3 separate regions of the Homo sapiens genome follow, and all the other regions are linked to region 2. Evidence: promoter capture Hi-C in human tissues and cell types (Jung and others, 2019). All regions are on one chromosome and are shown on one strand. The core of a region is centred on a gene start or on the middle of the fragment in contact, and the rest is flanking DNA. Distances in the headings are between cores, read along the strand shown. Region 1 overlaps DAP3 (death associated protein 3). Region 2 holds the start of SCAMP3 (secretory carrier membrane protein 3). Region 3 overlaps ASH1L (ASH1 like histone lysine methyltransferase).

Region 1 (2,700 bases), core at 54-2,553, 450 kb before region 2:
CTCTGTACAGTTCCAGAATGAACATCCTGCAGTTTCTGAAAGAGCATTTGTGAGCCAATCTAGAAGATCACCGTGATGGTTAATATTAAGCGTCAACTTGATTGGATTAAAGGCTGTAAAGTATTGTTCCTGGGTGTGTCTGTGAGGGTGTTGCCAAAGGAGATTAACATTTGAGTCAGTGGACTGGGAGACGCAGACCCACCCTCAGTGTGGGTGGACACCATCTAATCACCTGCCAGGGCAGCTAGAATAAAGCAGGCAGAAGAAGGTAGGATGAGCCGACTTGCTGGGTCTTCCAGCCTTCATCTTTCTCCTGAGCTAGATGCTTCCCGCCCTCGAACACTGGACTCCAAGTTCTTCAGCTTTTGGACCCTTGGACTTACAACAGTGATTTGCCAGGGGCTCTCAGGCCTTTAGCCACAGACTGAAGACTGCACTGTCAGCTTCCCTACTTTTGAAGTTTTGGGACTTGGACTGGCTTACTTGCTCCTCAGCTTGCTCACGGCCTACTGTGGGACTTCGCCAGATGGTGTGACTCAATACTCCTTAACAAACTCTCCTTCATATATACTTCTATCCTATTAGTGCTGTCCCTGTAGAGAACCCTGACTAATACAGTCACCCTGAACCAAACTAGTAAAAAAAAAAAAACAAAACTTTCTCTCACCAACAGCACTCTACAGTCTAGCCTCAGGTCTTTGTTGTCTGTTATTAAGAAAGAGGAAATTTTTTTTTTTCTTTTGAGATGGAGTCTCGCTCTATTGCCCAGGCTAGAGTGCAGTGGCGTGATCTTGGCTCACTGCAACCTCTACCTCTTGGGTTCAAGCGATTCTCTTACCTCAGCCTCCCAAGTAGCTGGGATTACAGGCGTGTGCCACCACACGCAGCTAATTTTTGTATTTTTAGTAGAGACGGGGTTTCACTATGTTGGCCAGGCTGGTCTCAAACTGCTGACCTCAGGTGATCTGCCTGCCTCGGCCTCCCAAAGTGCTGGGATTACAGGCATGAGCTACTGTGCCCGGCCGAGAGAGGAAATTTATTTTAGCCTTGTAATATGATCAGTTGAGTCCAGAATCCATCCCTCTGCTGATCCTTGCTTTCGTTTCATTTTATAATAATGGGTTATTTTATGTATTAATATATAGGCCTGAGGGAAGGGGGCACATGCAGGGGGAGCCATATAGGAGGAAGGGCTCCTTTTCTAGGAAATCTAATCTGTAATTAAATAATCAGCTGAAAATGACCAAGTCTTTCTGGCTCAGTTCTGAGCCTTTCAGGATCTCCTGCTGACTCGACTAATCCCGCTCAGGTGCTCCTCTTTGGTGCTGTAAGAGCACCATACTGAAATAGTCATTTTTTCATGATTCTACTGGACTGTAAGCTTCTGGAGAACATGGACCATAAAATGCAATAGAGCACAGTGGTTAGGCCACAGGCTTTGAAGTCAGACAGACCTGGCATCTCGTGTGGGCTTTGCAACCTCACAGGCTATTTCCTCAGGTAAGTTACCTAGCCAGTCTCATCTTTAGTTTCTCCATCTGTGAAACAAGGATATTATCTCGTTCATGGGTTGATCATGAGGATTAAAAAAATAAATCACTTAGTGTAGTACCTGGCACATAATAATACCCAACAAATAATAACTATTATTAGTGAAATGAGGCATCTTAGAATTCTGAGTACCTGCCATATAGAAGGTACTGAAGGCCGGGCACAGTGGCTCACGCCTGTAATCCCAGCACTTTGGGAGGCCTAGGTGGGCAGATCACGAAGTCAGGAGTTCGAGACCAGCCTAGCTAATATGATGAAACACCGTTTCTACTAAAAATACAAAAATTAGCCGGGCATGGTGGCAAGCGCCTGTAGTCCCAGCTATTCGGGAGGCTGAGGCAGAAGAATAGCTTGAACCCAGGAGGCAGAGGTTGCAGTGAGCCGAGATTGCGCCACTGCACACTCCAGCCTGGGCAACAGAGCGAGACTCTGTCTCAAAAAAAAAAAAAAAAAAGTACTGAAAAACTATTTGGTAAATATGTGAAAAAATGAAGTAAACCAGCAGAATGGTCTTTTTCATGTACAATTTTATTTTTTATTCTATTTTAGATGCTAAAGCTGTAAATTGGCAACTTGTTTTTCTTTTAAATACTTCATTAAGGGATGATAACCATTCTCTAGTTGGCTAGAGAAATAAAGTTAATAAAGATAATTACAGTCAAACTTACTTATGTTTTCTGGAAAAATATTAATTCTCCTATTCCATGGTAAATTCTCAAGCACAATTATTCTACTGAAACCTGTTACATATGAAGTTTTCCAGAGCATTTCACTCTAGATACAATGAATCCATCTGAAAACAAGAATCTGGGAACCTAAAGGCAGTATGCACAGAGTGTTCAGGTCAGTCAGGACTCACCTTATGGATCCTAGAGATAAGCCTTGTTATTCCTTTCAGCATCATCCTTGCACTGTTACAAAAAAAAAAAAAGTGAAAAGGTAAACCACAAATGGGAAAAGATGTGTGCAACATGGAAAACTGACAATAGATTAATAGGGATTAATAATCTATATTAATATCTAGAATATATAAAGAATGCCTACAGCTTCATTAAAAAAATGAGCAAAAGGCATGAACAGGCATTTCACAGAAAACGAAACACAAAAGGCTAGTGAACCCATGAAAAGATTTTTGAACCTCATTACAAA
Region 2 (2,700 bases), core at 170-2,669:
GGAGGGAAGGAGGTTAGACAGCCTAACCTTGAGACAACCAGAGATCAAAGCAATGTCCTGGATTCTTTAGGTCAGACAGAAAAGAATAAACTACCTTTGAAGAGCTTACATTTTAATGAGGAACTAAAGAAGATTCATGAAGTTGACAAGGATATACAAGTAGAAAGAACTTTCAAAGATTATGGAGTAATTGTGCTAGTGGGAAGGTAGGTTGAGCTATAATATCAGAAACGTTGGTCCTGGTGTGGTCGTGGTTAGGTAGCCTTCAAATTGGTTGCAAGCAGAGCCTTGGTTCTCCAAGAATGAAAGGTAGGGTCTTGAAGAAGGCAGGGTTTGTAAGGCATCCTGCCTCACCTTTTTCCTGCCCTCCTCCACCAGCGGTATCTGACCTCAGAGGCAGAGGAACACCACCAGCTCTTCGATCTGATTGAAAGCATGCTAGAGTATGAACCAGCTAAGCGGCTGACCTTGGGTGAAGCCCTTCAGCATCCTTTCTTCGCCCGCCTTCGGGCTGAGCCGCCCAACAAGTTGTGGGACTCCAGTCGGGATATCAGTCGGTGACGATCAGGCCCTGGGCCCCCCTGCATCTTTTATAGCAGTGGGTGTCCAGTCCAGGACACTGGTGCTTTTTTATACAAGAGAACGAGCCAGAGTTCACTCCTTCCTCCTGGCTCTCTATATACCTGTGAATATGTGAAATAGTGTAAATATGAAAGAACTTGTACCTATCACTTCAACCCCTGCCTTGTACATAATACTATTCCATCCACACAGTTTCCACCCTCACCTGCCCCCTCATACGGAGTTGGATGGGGGCCGAGTGAGGTAACCAGGTGGCATCTACCCCATGTTTTATAAGGAATTTTGTACAGTCTTTGTGAAATAAAATAACGTGCTTCATTTGACCCCCATCCCTGGAGTTGGAGGTTTGGGAATGCTGGGGTGGAGGGATGAAACTATTGGCAAACTTTCTGAGTTTGGGTATGAAGGGAGTCCTCCTTACCCTCCAAAATGAAGCACAGCCAGGCTACCAGTTTATTTCCCCTGTCCACCTTATCATATGGGAGGGTAGTGATGGGTGGGGCAGCATTTCTTTCAGATTAAAACAGAGAAGTGTTATGAGGTGGCACTTCTCGGATGTGGAATTATGAGAGTTGGGAAAGATCTGACTCCTAGAGTCATTAGGCCGCGGCCCAGTATAGAGCCAGAAACTCAGGTTGAAAACGTGCTCAACCTGGCTCCTAGGGGGGATTGCCACGACCGGTCAGAAGGCTCCCGTCGTCCATCTCGGGAGACTAGGAAGGCCGGATTCCTACGCGAGGCCTGCTGGGAAGTGTAGTTCGTTAGTGGAAGGAAGTCACATGGAAGAGGGGCGGTAGTTGGTTGTGGGCACTGGGTTAGAGGTATCACGTGGGGGCACTTTCGTCTTAGCTTTTGGACAAGACGCAGGCGCAACCCACGGCTGCTGCGGGGATCCTTGTGGCCCTTCCGGTCGGTGGAACCAATCCGTGCACAGAGAAGCGGGGCGAACTGAGGCGAGTGAAGTGGACTCTGAGGGCTACCGCTACCGCCACTGCTGCGGCAGGGGCGTGGAGGGCAGAGGGCCGCGGAGGCCGCAGTTGCAAACATGGCTCAGAGCAGAGACGGCGGAAACCCGTTCGCCGAGCCCAGCGAGCTTGACAACCCCTTTCAGGTGACTTGCGCCAGTCGGCCTCTTTTGGGCGGTCAGGTTGATTCTTCCCGGTTCTGTAGGGTCGGGCTAACTTGTATCCCCATTTGTGACATTTGATCCTGGGAAGAGCCGCCACGTGGGGTGACAGTGACTCCAGACCAGTGAGCACTCTGGGGGGCGGGCCCTGCCCCTTAATGGGCTGGTGCTGGCAGTGTTGGATGATGGATTTGAGGTAAATGTTGTCCCAGTCCTGGGACAACGGCGTGGCCCCGAAGGTGCAGTACTTGGAGCCACAGGCAGTTTGGGAATGGTCCCTGGGAATTCCCCTAGGTGGCACTGGGTGCCAGCTGAGACCCGGGTCTCTGCCCTCAGGACCCAGCTGTGATCCAGCACCGACCCAGCCGGCAGTATGCCACGCTTGACGTCTACAACCCTTTTGAGACCCGGGAGGTGAGCTACTGGAGAGCATAGGAGTTCAAGGAAGGGAAGGGTTTGCCAGTGAGACAAGTTAGCTTGGGTACAGGGGACTTTTCTGCATGCACAGGAAGGAAGAGGCACTGTGATCTTAGTTCCCTGAGAGAGGCTAGTCAGCCATGGGATGCCTCATCCTTCTAGGGCCACCAGGGCCACCAACCCAAATGGTTTGAGCTCTAAAAGTCAGTCCTGGGAAGATCTGGAGGCTGGCAAGGCCTTAACCAATGTTCTGTATGGGAAGGCTTTCTTGAAGAAAATAAAGGTTGGGGCTGGTTGGAGTTTAGGTTAGGTGTGCAGTTTGAAAGCAAGGAATGAGGAGGACTACACCTGTTTGTCCCACTGGATTAGAAGATGGTGAGTTGTAAGAATTTAAGGGGTTTTCATGGTACTTAAAACTTAAAAAAAAAAGCCAAGCATGGTGTGCATGCCTGTAATCCCACTTGGGAGGCTGAGGTGGGAGGATTGCTTGAGCCCAGGAATTTGATGGAGACCATCCTGGGCAACAGCGAGACCCCCATCTCTTGAAACGTTTTAAAAATTGGCTAGGTGTAGTG
Region 3 (2,700 bases), core at 4-2,503, 270 kb before region 2:
TCTTTGGCAAACTAGTGCAGGAACAGAAAATCAAATACTGTATGTTCTCACATATAAATGGGAGCTAAATGATGACAACACATGGACACATAGAGGGGAACAACACACACTGGGGCTTATTGGAGGGTGGAGGGTGGGAAGAGGGAGAGAATCAGGAAAAATAACTAATGGGTACTAGGCTTAATACCTGGGTGATGAAATAAACCCCCATGACACAAGTTTACCCACGTAACAAACCTGCACATGTACCCCTGAACTTAGAATAAAAGTTAAATATATTAAAAAATCAATAAATCAATGGACTTTGAGTTAAGCAGATCACCCTCCATAATGTTGGGGAGGAACTTCATCTACTCAACTGAAGGCATTAACAGAACAAAAGATTGACCTCTCCTCAGTAAGAGGCAAGTCTGCCAGCAGAATGAAAACATTGGGTCTTCCTGGGTCTTCAGCCTGCCACTGACCCACCCTGCAGATTTTGGGACTGGCCAGCTTCCATAATCATGTGAGCAATTCCTTTAAATAAACCTCTTTCTTTAAAAAAAAAAAAAGCTATTGCAATAATCCATTCACATATTTATCATCACTTGGATCTAATAGCTGTCAGAGTAATGACAACTGGTTAGATTCTGCATACATTTTGAAGGTAAAGCTGACAAACTTAGCTGACCAAATGGACATGAGGGGTTTGAGAGAAAAAGCAATTAAGGATGGGTAGAGATTTTTGGCCTAAATATTTCTCTTTGGAATTACCATATTTTGAAATGAAACCTGTAGGAAGAATAGATTTGGGGCAGTGGGCAAAGATGAATTGATTTTAAACATGTTAAGTGCCTATCTATTACACAATCCAGTCAGTATGTCAAGTAAGCATTTAGATATGTGAATCTGAAGTTCCAGAAAGAGGTCTCAGCTAGTCTCTATCTGAAGATAGAAATTTGTGAATCATCAATGTTAGATGAAATTTAAAGCCGTAAGACTGGATCTGGTCATTTGGGAACTGAGTGTAGATAGAAAAAGGAAGAGGTCCGGGTACCCTGCGTCACTCCAGTATTTAAAGGTCATGGAGGAAGGAAAGAACCTGCAAAGGAGACAGAGGGTAGTAGCCAGTGAGGAAGAACAATCAAGAGAGGAGTCCCAGAGCTGGGCACGGTGACTCATGCCTGTCATCCCAGCTACTCGGGAGTCTGAGGTCGGAGGATTGCTTGAGGCCAGGACTTGAAGACTAGCCTGGGCAACCTAGTGAGACCCTGTCTCTAAAACAGTGAAAAAAAATTGGACATGGTGGCACATGCCTGTATTTCTAGCTACTTGGAATAGCTACTTGGGGTCTGAGGCAGGAGAATCACTTGAGCCCAGGATTTTGAGGCTGCAGTGAGCTATGATTGTGCCACTGCACTCTGGCCAGGGTGACAGAGAGAGACCTTGACTCAAAAAAAAAAAAAAAAAAAAAAAGGTATCCCGTAAGTCAAGTGAGGTAGCGAGGGAGCTGTTTAGCTGTGCCAAATTCTGTTGATAGGTCAGGTAAGATGAGAGGACTGAGAATTGATCATTCTTCTTAGCAATGTGGAGGTTGTTGGTGACCTTGACTAGCAGTTTCTATGGAGGGGTGGCAGTGAAAGTATAATCAGTATGTTCAAGAGAAAAAGCAAGGATTGGAGGTCAGGGAGAATAGACAATATAGAGAATTCTAACAATTTTGTTGTGAAGAGGAACAGAGAAATGGGAAGATGGTGGAGGATGTGGAGTCAAGAGGAATTTTTTTTTTTCTTTTTTTTTGAGACGGAGTCTCGCTCTGTCACCTAGGCTGGAGTGCAGTGGCACCATCTTGGCTCACTGCAACCTCTGCCTCCCGGGTTCAAGCAATTCTCCTGCCTCAGCCTCCTGAGTAGCTGGGATTACAGGCATGCGCCACCACACCTGGCTAATTTCTTATATTTTTGGTAGAGATGGGGTTTCACCACGTTGGCCAAGCTGGTCTTGAGTATCTGACCTCAAGTGAGGTCTGCCCGCCTTGGCCTCCCAACTGCTGGGATTACAGGCGTGAGCCATCTTGCTCGGCTAAGAGGAATTTTCTTCCATGAGAGATATTATAGTATGTTTTTGTTTTCAGGCTTATTGGCATTATTCAGAGGAAATATGAGAAATGGATGATGTGAGAGAGAAAGGAGATAGTTGCCTAAATGAAGAGGTTGAAAGGAGAGATCGTTTATATATTGTGATAGGAAGGCAGTCAGACTATAGGAACAGACACAGGTAGGAAGGTAGGTAGATATATGGTGGGCACTTGTGGCACTTTTCTGTTTGTTACTGCTTCCTATCTGACTACTGCTGTGATCAGATAGGAAGCAAAATTAGGGACAATGAAGAAAGGGGAGATGGGATGAAATAGTTTTTTAGGAGAGTGGTAGAGGGAATAGATTAGGGAAGTGTATTGGCAGCACCAAGGGCTTACTCGGAGTTAGTGGTCAGGAATATAAAATGAGATCATTGAGTGTTATTGTTTTTCTTAGACTAGCTGTGATGGTACAGAGACAGAAGATGTATAAAATATGATTTGGAAGTATGTTAGTGCTGAAATTAGGATATTTTAGTAAATTTACAGAAAACCACCTATGTGAAATATAAACATATTAAGAAAAAACTTGTGTATAGTTTTCTCATTGTAACACAAGATAAAGTTATGTAAAACAGGAAAAA

What was found. Contacts are between HindIII fragments. The study calls those that stand out against the background at their distance.
Region 1: a fragment that was not itself captured here is called in contact with the fragment with the promoter of SCAMP3 in region 2 in 1 of the 25 tissues and cell types used here (lymphoblastoid cells).
Region 3: a contact is called between a fragment that was not itself captured here and the fragment with the promoter of SCAMP3 in region 2, in 1 of the 25 tissues and cell types used here (IMR-90 fibroblasts).

What each region holds. Positions count from the first base shown.
Region 1 is chr1:155,709,535-155,712,234 of GRCh38, reverse strand. It overlaps DAP3 (death associated protein 3), which reads right to left. Exons shown (of 13, transcript NM_004632.4): 2 at 2,411-2,462. The coding sequence starts at 2,455. Among named protein-coding and RNA genes, the nearest start is that of DAP3, 22 kb to the right of the region's middle. The HindIII fragment of the contact is 3,221 bases long and covers 1-2,700 here.
Region 2 is chr1:155,261,079-155,263,778 of GRCh38, reverse strand. SCAMP3 (secretory carrier membrane protein 3) reads left to right here and starts at 1,419. Exons shown (of 9, transcript NM_005698.4): 1 at 1,419-1,693; 2 at 2,045-2,122. The coding sequence starts at 1,628. CLK2 (CDC like kinase 2) reads left to right here. Exons shown (of 13, transcript NM_001294338.2): 13 at 379-911. The coding sequence ends at 561. The HindIII fragment of the contact is 10,284 bases long and covers 1-2,700 here.
Region 3 is chr1:155,526,287-155,528,986 of GRCh38, reverse strand. The region is part of intron 1 of ASH1L (ASH1 like histone lysine methyltransferase); the gene reads left to right. Among named protein-coding and RNA genes, the nearest start is that of ASH1L-AS1, 34 kb to the left of the region's middle. The HindIII fragment of the contact is 7,904 bases long and covers 1-2,700 here.